Regions from separate parts of the Homo sapiens genome. Here region 2 is linked to region 1. The links are contacts of gene promoters, found by promoter capture Hi-C in blood cells and fetal thymus (Javierre and others, 2016). All regions are on one chromosome and are shown on one strand. The core of a region is centred on a gene start or on the middle of the fragment in contact, and the rest is flanking DNA. Distances in the headings are between cores, read along the strand shown. Region 1 holds the start of CARD11 (caspase recruitment domain family member 11). Region 2 overlaps LOC105375130 (a long non-coding RNA gene).

The links. Contacts are between HindIII fragments. The CHiCAGO score rates a contact against its expected background, and 5 or more counts as called.
Region 2: a contact is called between a fragment that was not itself captured here and the fragment with the promoter of CARD11 in region 1, in 1 of 17 cell types (total CD8 T cells). The highest score is 5.4, in total CD8 T cells.

What each region holds. Positions count from the first base shown.
Region 1 is chr7:3,042,523-3,046,722 of GRCh38, forward strand. It overlaps CARD11 (caspase recruitment domain family member 11), which reads right to left and starts at 1,345. Exons shown (of 25, transcript NM_032415.7): 1 at 1,145-1,345. RefSeq lists a silencer at 1,058-1,407 and an enhancer at 1,273-1,567. The HindIII fragment of the contact is 15,618 bases long and covers 1-1,867 here.
Region 2 is chr7:3,092,092-3,096,050 of GRCh38, forward strand. It overlaps LOC105375130 (a long non-coding RNA gene), which reads right to left. Exons shown (of 2, transcript XR_007060191.1): 2 at 2,035-3,494. Among named protein-coding and RNA genes, the nearest start is that of CARD11, 50 kb to the left of the region's middle. The HindIII fragment of the contact is 1,232 bases long and covers 1,367-2,598 here.

The DNA.
Region 1 (4,200 bases), core at 95-2,594:
GGGGAGAGAACCGGAGTTTCCGCGAAAGCGCAGAAGTGGACACTTACGGAGAAATTCCTGTCCTCATATCAATTCCCGGCTCCCGGGATTTCCGGCACGCATTATGCACAGGCTGAGCGCTCAATAAATGTGGAATGAACGATCGACTATTTTTCTCCCCTTTCTGGTAGGTTGGTAACCTTATACCTTCAAGACGAGTCATAAATATTAGGAGAAAATGTTTTGAACTACAAATCAAAGGCTTTGAGAGCAGGCCAGGCAGAGAGAGGTCAGTTTGGTCCAAGACCAAGTTTGTGTGGGCAGCCCCGAAGCTCACAGCTGAGACCACTGTCCATGAACCTGGGTCCCCGTGACAGCCTCCAGCGGTGCTCAGAGCCCCCGAGGGACAGAAACACCCTCTCTGCCCCTATCTGCAGAGGGGGCTCAGCAGAAGGCCTGGTGGCCCCATCGGGCCTGGAGGGGCCTCCTGGGGGAGGTGGCTTTCAGGCCTGAGGCCGCTAGGACCTGCTCCGGGTTTCAGTCGGGAACCTGGGCCCTCTCCTGTGCCCCCGCCACCCCCTTTCTAGTACAGTCCCCGCGGGGGGCTGTCCTCTCCCATCTCCCAGCTCCACACCCACTTTTGGTGCGGCTGCCCTTCCTCCCTGAGCCAGGCCCCACCTTCCCAGGAGCCTCTGAGTCAGGCTGGGCTGTGGTCTGCAAACTTCCGGGCCTTTCAGGTGTCAGAAAAGTTTCTCTTCCTCCCTCTGGGGCAGGTGCACCAAGGGGCTGCAGCCTCCTGACCCCCGATTTTTTCCTGTCCAGTAGGAGGAGGTGGGGGCTTTGCTGGGCGGTGATACTCAGAGACGCTCAAAGAGACACGGAGGAGAGGCACACGAGGTGGAAAGTGAGGGAGAAAAAGGGTTGGAAGGGAAAAAGGGGAGAGGAGAGTGAGAGAGAGAAGGGGGGCAGGGGGACAGAGATGGAGAGGGAAGGATACCCCCAGCATCGCGGGACCAGCGGGAGCCACTCCCATCCCCCGACGCCCCCCCCGCCACCGTGTCATCTCACTGATGCCCCCCATCTCCTCCCCGTGCCCTCTTCTCTTCCCCCAACTCCCCGCCTCGTGCTCCCCCTCCGCCAGCTCCCCCATCCCCGCTGCGCCTACCTGGGGCGCTCATGCTCCGCCAGCCAGCTGCGCGGGGCGCCTCCTCCACGCAGGCCTCCGGCTTCCTCCAGGCGACCAGGCCCTCCGTCCCCCCGGGCCCGGAGCCGTCCTCCGAGGGGCGCCGCCCGCCCAGGGGCTGCAGGGCCGGGAGGGGGCTGCGGGCGGCGCGGGCAGGAGTCCGAAGGCCAGAGGAGGCAGGAGAGAAAAAAGGAGAGAAAGTATGTCATAGGCTGGGAGGGGCGGGGGAGGGAAATGCAAAACCCGACAGGAAATGAGACTAAAAAATGCGAAAGGTTAGAAAAAGATAAGGAAGAGAGGGAGGGGGCGGAGTCGGTGCTTCGGGAGGAGGGCGGCAAGGAGGTGGGGGTGGGAGTGGGGACAGGGCCGGGGGTGGGGGTGCTTGGGGACAGATCAGGGAGCCGGAGATGGGGAGACCAAGGCGAGTCTCAGGGCCCAGCCCACCTGCATCAGTCGGGGTGAGGCTGGACCAGTCTGGGCATCAGTCCCCACCCAGCCGTGACCCCCGGCAGAGTCCAGGTGGGGCCTTGGGAGGGGCTCTCTCCCTTCTAGGTTCTCCAGGGCACTGGCTCCCGAGATCTAGCTGAATTTCTGAAGAAATTCCAGAGCCTGTCACTGCAATGGGAGGGGAACGGGGTGCCCCACATCAAATCCTGCAGCCTCCTACACCCCAAGCCTCTTTCCTCCCTCAGCCCCTGTTCTGGAAGCTTCCTGGGCATGCCGGGTGGTCAGCACCCCTTCAAAGGCCTTCCTCACCCCGACAGCTTTGGGGTCCAAGACACCCACCATCAGCTTGTGCCCTCGATGTTCCGGTGAAGTATACTTGTAAGAGAAACTGTGATTTGGATGTCATCATTTTACTTTATTTTTATTTTTTGAGATGGAGTCTCGCTCTGTCACCCAGGCTGGAGTGCAGTGGCACAATCTCAGCTCACTGCAAGCTCCACCTCCTGGGTTCAAGCGATTCTCCCACCTCAGCCTCCCGAGTAGCTGGGACCACAGGCGTGCACCACCAAACTTGGCTAATTTTTGTATTTTTAGTAGAAATGGGGTTTCAACATGATGGCCAGGCTGGCCTCGAACTCCTGACCTCAAGTGATATGCCCACCTCAGCCTCCCAAAGTGCTGGGATTACAGGCATGAGCCTCTGCGCCCAGCTGGATGTCATCATTTTAATAATTTACCCCAAATGGCCATCGTCATGGGTGGGATGGTCCCAAGGGTTTACATGGATTGCAGACTCAAAAATCTGGATGAAAGAAAATGTGATACACACACACACGCCATGCAATACTACTCAGCCATAAAAAAGAACGAAATAAAGTATTTTGCAGCAACTTGGATGGAACTGGAGGCCATTATCCTAAGTGAAGTAACTCAGGAGTGGAAAACCAAATACTACATGTTCTTATTTAAAAGCGAGAGCTAAGCTATGGGTAGGCAAAGGCAGGCAGAGTGGGATCATGGACGTTGGAGACTCAGAAGGGGGAAGAATGGGAGGGGGTAGGGGATGAAAAATCACCTATTGGGTACAATGTATACTGTACAATGTGCACTATTCCAGTGACTGATGCACTAAAAGCCCAGACTTCACCACTATACGCTTCATCCACGTAACCCAAAACCGCAAGTACCCCTAAAGCTATTGAAATAAAAATCTGGATGAGCCATGCCTACCCAGAAAACCTTAGTTTCTATTCTCTTGCTGCAATTGCACTGCCTCCTGCACCGCCCGCCCCCCCGTTGCCCCAGCCTCTGCACCTCTCATTCTACTCTGCCTCAGTTTACCATTCTCCTCTCATCTATCTCCCTCTCTTTTGATCCCCTCATTATGGCTAGAGAATGTAGGCTTCTGTTTCATGTTTTAAGTGTTCTGAGAAAAGTTCCTCGAGCTGCTAGAAGGAAAGGCCTTCAATAAATTAAATTTTCAGCAAGACAATAAATAAAAAATGGGACATTGGTCCAAGCACGGAAGAATCTGAAATACCAGTGAGGAGTCTGTTTGCACTGATGCACATGTGCTAGGGATGAAGGAAGACACGAGTTTGCTTCCTGTAAAGCGTGTTCAGAAATGCAAGCAAGGGCCGTAAAGAAAGTTTCTAAAATGAACACCAAGACCCACAGCCTTCTAACACCAAGACCCACAGCCTTCTAGGCCTTGGTCCCTAAGGATACATCTCACTGCCTACCTGGGACTGGGGAAGCTGCTTGTACTCCATGAAACCTCTAAATCAGGCAGTGGCATTTTATTTATTTATTTATTTATTTGGGATGGAGTCTCACTCTGTTGCCCAGGCTGGAGTGCAGTGGCACGATCTCGGCTCACTGCAACCTCCACCTCCCGGGTTCAAGTGATCGTCCTGCCTCAGCCTCCTGAGTAGCTGGGATTACAGGCACGCACCACCACACCTGGTTAATTTTTGTATTTTTAGTAGAGATGGGGTTTTACCATGTTGGTCAGGCTGGTCTCTAACTCCTGACCTCATGATCCGCCCACCTCGGCCTCCCAAAGTGCTGGGATTACAAGTGTGAGCCCATGCGCCCGGCAAGCATTTTATTTTATTTCATTTTATTATTTTTGAAACAGGGTCTCGCTCTGCTGCCCAGGTTGGAGTACAGTGGCTTGATCAAGGCTCACTGCGGCTTTGACCTCCTTGGCTCAAGCCATCCTCCCGCCTTGGCCTCTCGAGAAGCTGGGACTACAAGTGCACGCCACCACGCCTGGCTAATTTTTTAATTTTCTGTAGAGATGAAGTCTCACTATGTTGCCCAGGCTGGTCTTGAACTCCTGACCTCAAGTGATCCTCTCGCTCAGGCCTCCCAAAGTGTCAGGATTACAGACATGAGCCACGGCATCTGGCCTGTCATTTTAAAGAAGAGCTCAGATTTCCCTCCTGCAAGATACGAAATGAGGGCAGTGCCTTAAAACAATGAAACATGTCTGTAGAGATATGTATGCAGTAAAGTACACAAATGCTGCAAAGTCCCATGAATTTTTGCAGCAACTTGGATGGAACTGGAGGCCATTATCCCAAGTG
Region 2 (3,959 bases), core at 733-3,232, 50 kb after region 1:
TAAACCAAGATGACTAGTGTCTTCATGAAAAGGGAAATTTGGACACAGACACACAGGAGAGCACACGTGAGGATGAAGGTGGAGATCAGAGGGATGCGTCTACAAGTCGAGGATCACTGCAGATTGTGGAGAACCACCGGGAGCTGGGGAGAGGCCTGGGGCAGGTTCTCTGCCCCCAGAAGGAACCAACCCTACCAACACCTTGATCTTGGACCTCTGGCCTCCAGCCCCATGAGGCCATACATTTCTGTTGTTTAAGTTGCCCTGTTTGTGGTACTTTGTCGTGGCAGGCCCAGCATACTAATATAGGACCCAAGAGGTAGCTGGGGAAAGATTGGGCAAACTGTGTGCATGGCATCATTACTCAGGTCAAAAATTTGAAATGAAGCTCAAACTTAAAAATATTGGTAAGTATGAAAAAAAAAGCATGATAAAAAAAAAAAAAAGAAAAGCTATTGCTGCTAAAGGAAGAAGGGTAGGGTTTCCCCACCTCCATCAGCTTGCAAAAATGAGGCTGGTGACGTGGCTGTGGGTCTCATTTCCTGCACGGCCTGTTGGGGTTTGTGTAGTTTCTGGGCACTCAGCTTGAGAGGCTGACCTCCCAAAGGCATTGGGAGCCTGCGGGAGCCAGCCAGGGGGAGCACAGCTGTGCAGCCATGCCTGTTTGTCCTGACCCTACAGCAGGACGCAGGCGCCCCACCACCCAGAACCCCAGAACCGGATGTAGGAGGTGGTGAGAGCTGCATTGGTTGATTTCCTATTTTCTTCCTTCCTATTTTTTTTTTTTTAATTTTTTAGAGCAAGGTCTTGCTCTGTTGCCCACGCTGGAGTGCAGTGGTTCAATCATAGCTCACTGCAGCCTCTACCTCCCGGGCTCAAGCAATCCTCCTGCCTTAGCCTCCTGAGTAGCTGAGACCACAGATGCATGCCACCATGCTCGGCTAATTTTTAATTTTTTTTTTTTTTTTTGTAGAAAAGGGGGGTCTTGCTATGTGGCTCAGGCTGGTCTCAAACTCTGAAGCTCAAGTGATCCTCCCACGTTGGCTGCCCAAAGTGTGGGGATTATAGGCGTGAGGCACCGCACCTGGCCTGATCTCCTATTTCAGTAATGTATCACCTCCTGTGCAAAGAAGGAAGATTGTTGCAAATTAAACATAAAAACATGAAAGCTTTTCAAGCTGGGTATCTAAGTAGCCTTTTCATTCCCACCAACTCCATGACAGATTCCTATATGTGTTGTGCATAACCATTATTAAAATAACAATATCGCCCTGTTGGAAGAATTCAGAATGTCACTAGAACATTCTAAAGATAAAGGCCAAAAAAAACCCAAACCCCCCCCCCACACACACAAAAAACACAACCAAGCTTTATCTTTGGAACAGAATAAGGTTAAAAAAAATTAAAATAATCACAAAGGTATGATTTAATCTTTACAATGTTATAAATATTAATATGAAAAAGACTTTATATTGGGAAACATTATTATACAGTATAACGCTAATTTTATGAAAATCAATTCATTTAGTGCTCATACATTTTTTACCTCTCTCTTTGGCTTTTGCTGACGATTTACGTCTTATCATTTTCTACTTCAACACCTACCACCTTGCACTGGGGTACAGTGCAGGATTTGGACATCACAATTTTTTCTTCAGTAATGCCCCAAGGTTTCCCACAGATAAGAGGAGAAGGTTGGCCAGGTGTGGTGGCTCATACCTGTAATGGCAGCACTTTGGAAGGCTGAGGTGGGAGGATCACTTGAGCCTGGGTGTTTGAAATCAGTCTGGGTAACATAATGAGACCTCATCTCTATTAAAATTAAAAAACTAGCCAGGCATGGTGGTGAACACCTATAGTCCCAGCTACTCGGGAGGCTGAGGCAGGAGGATCACTTGAGCCCAGGAGGTTGAGGCTGCAGTGAGCCATGATTGTACCACTGCACTCCAGTCTGGGCCCCAGAGCAAGATCCTATCTCAAAAACAGCAACAACAAAAGAATAGGATGTTGCCAAAATAGGACAAACAACTGAGCTGAACGTTGGATGTTTTTAATCATAAGCATGGCTTGATTTACATCACTCCCTTCAGAAATGCAAAGGCTTCAGACATCGAGCCAAAGGCAAAACCATTGCAGGTATGTGGGGCCGGGAGAGCCCCAGCGAAGTCAGCTTGGTGCCCACTCCAGGCAGGCACAGGGCCAGCCCTGCTATGCTCCTTATCTCCTTTAATCCCCTAGCAACCCCAGAAGGTAGGTTTGTGATGATCCACACTCTGCAGATGAGGAAACTGAGGTTCAAGAGAGTTACTAACTTGCCCCTGGACATGCCCCTGGGAAGTGGCCGGGATGAGTTGGAAACCCATATCTACTTAGCTCCATGGTCCGGCTCTGTGTGCACTAAGACATCAATTACCCCCCGGGACTGGAAACCAGAAGGAGGCGGGCAATAGGTTGTGTTTGCTGACGGATCCCACCCAGAACTGATCCTACTGGATCTCCCTTAGGGAGACTCAGGAATCCTCACTACAGTGAATTACATGCACAGTTTTGGTGGCCAGAGGGGCATTTAGATGATGGCTACAGGAGTGCTTTTTTGAAAGCTTCATTAACTATACAAGTCAATACCCTATTGCAATTTCCATGAAATGGGTAATTCGGTGAAGTTCTTTTTTAACAAAATGTTGCATCAATGAGGGAATTCAGGGTGGGAGATCAACAGGAAGTTACAGTTGGAACCAATTTCAACCCACATAGAAAGATCCGGAAGCCTTGCAAGGAGACCATCACAGTAATCCGGCGTGAGAGTGCCGAGGCGTAGCTGCTGGAATCATCGCCCATTTTTCTAATTTGCAGCCTAGGAGCTGATCGTGCAACCCTGTTAGGGAGCTAATATAGGATGAAGATGGGACAAGTTGGTGTCGAGAGTAACACGCCGGCTCCTTAGCGGAGGTCTGAAGAACAATCGAGTTGAATTAATTTCTAAGAGACCCCATGACAGATTCTTGATGATGATCCCCAATTAGGGAAACCTCGGTTTCGTTTTTGTTTAATGTCAGGAAGTTAAGAGGCTGTGGGCGGATGGCTGTGAAAGACACGGAGGGTGAAAGCCTTGCCTCTCTTGAAACGTATGGGGCCGTGGCTGCAGGTCCTTTCATGCCTTCTCCAAAGAGGAAGTCGTGAAATCTGTGTGTCTCAGCCCATGTCCAAAGAGGGAAACGCTGTGATGAGAAGATACAGCGGTTCAACTCATTCTGGAGCCCACAGAGGCTTAAAAGAGGGGGAGAATCTGTTTCATGAAAAAGGGAAAGATTCAGTCTTGAACCAGATGAATGTGCCTGGGTGAAAATGCGTCAGTGGTACCAGAAAATCCAGACAGAATCCTTCCTCTGGGTTTTTCCCAAATCAACAAGTGTCTTTGGTTGCTGGGACGCAGGGAGAGAGCTGTTCATGGAGGAGCGTGGGAGGTCACATTCTTGAGGCCTGTTTAGTTTATCCTGTTAAAAGGAGGAGATGTGAGGCCAGGCACAGTGGCTCACACCTGTAATTCCAGCACTTTGGGAGGCCAAGGCAGGTGGATCACTTGAGGTCAGAGGATTGAGACAAGCCTGGCCAACATGGTGAAATCCCATCTCTACTAAAAATAAAACAAACAAACAAACAGAAACGCCTGGCGTGTTGGCTCACGCCTGTAATCCCAGCACTTTGGGAGGCTGAGGCAGGCGGATCACCTGATGTCAGGAGTTCAAGACCAGCCTGACCAACATGGAGAAACCCCGTCTCTACTAAAAATACAAAATTAGCCAGGGGTGGCTATGCATGCCTGTAATCCCAGGTACTCAGGAGGCTGAAGCAGGAGAATCGCTTGAACCCAGGAGGCTGAGGTTGCAGTGAGCCGAGATAGTGCCATTGCACTCCAGCCTCGGCAACAGAGTGAGACTCCATCTCAAAATAATAATAAT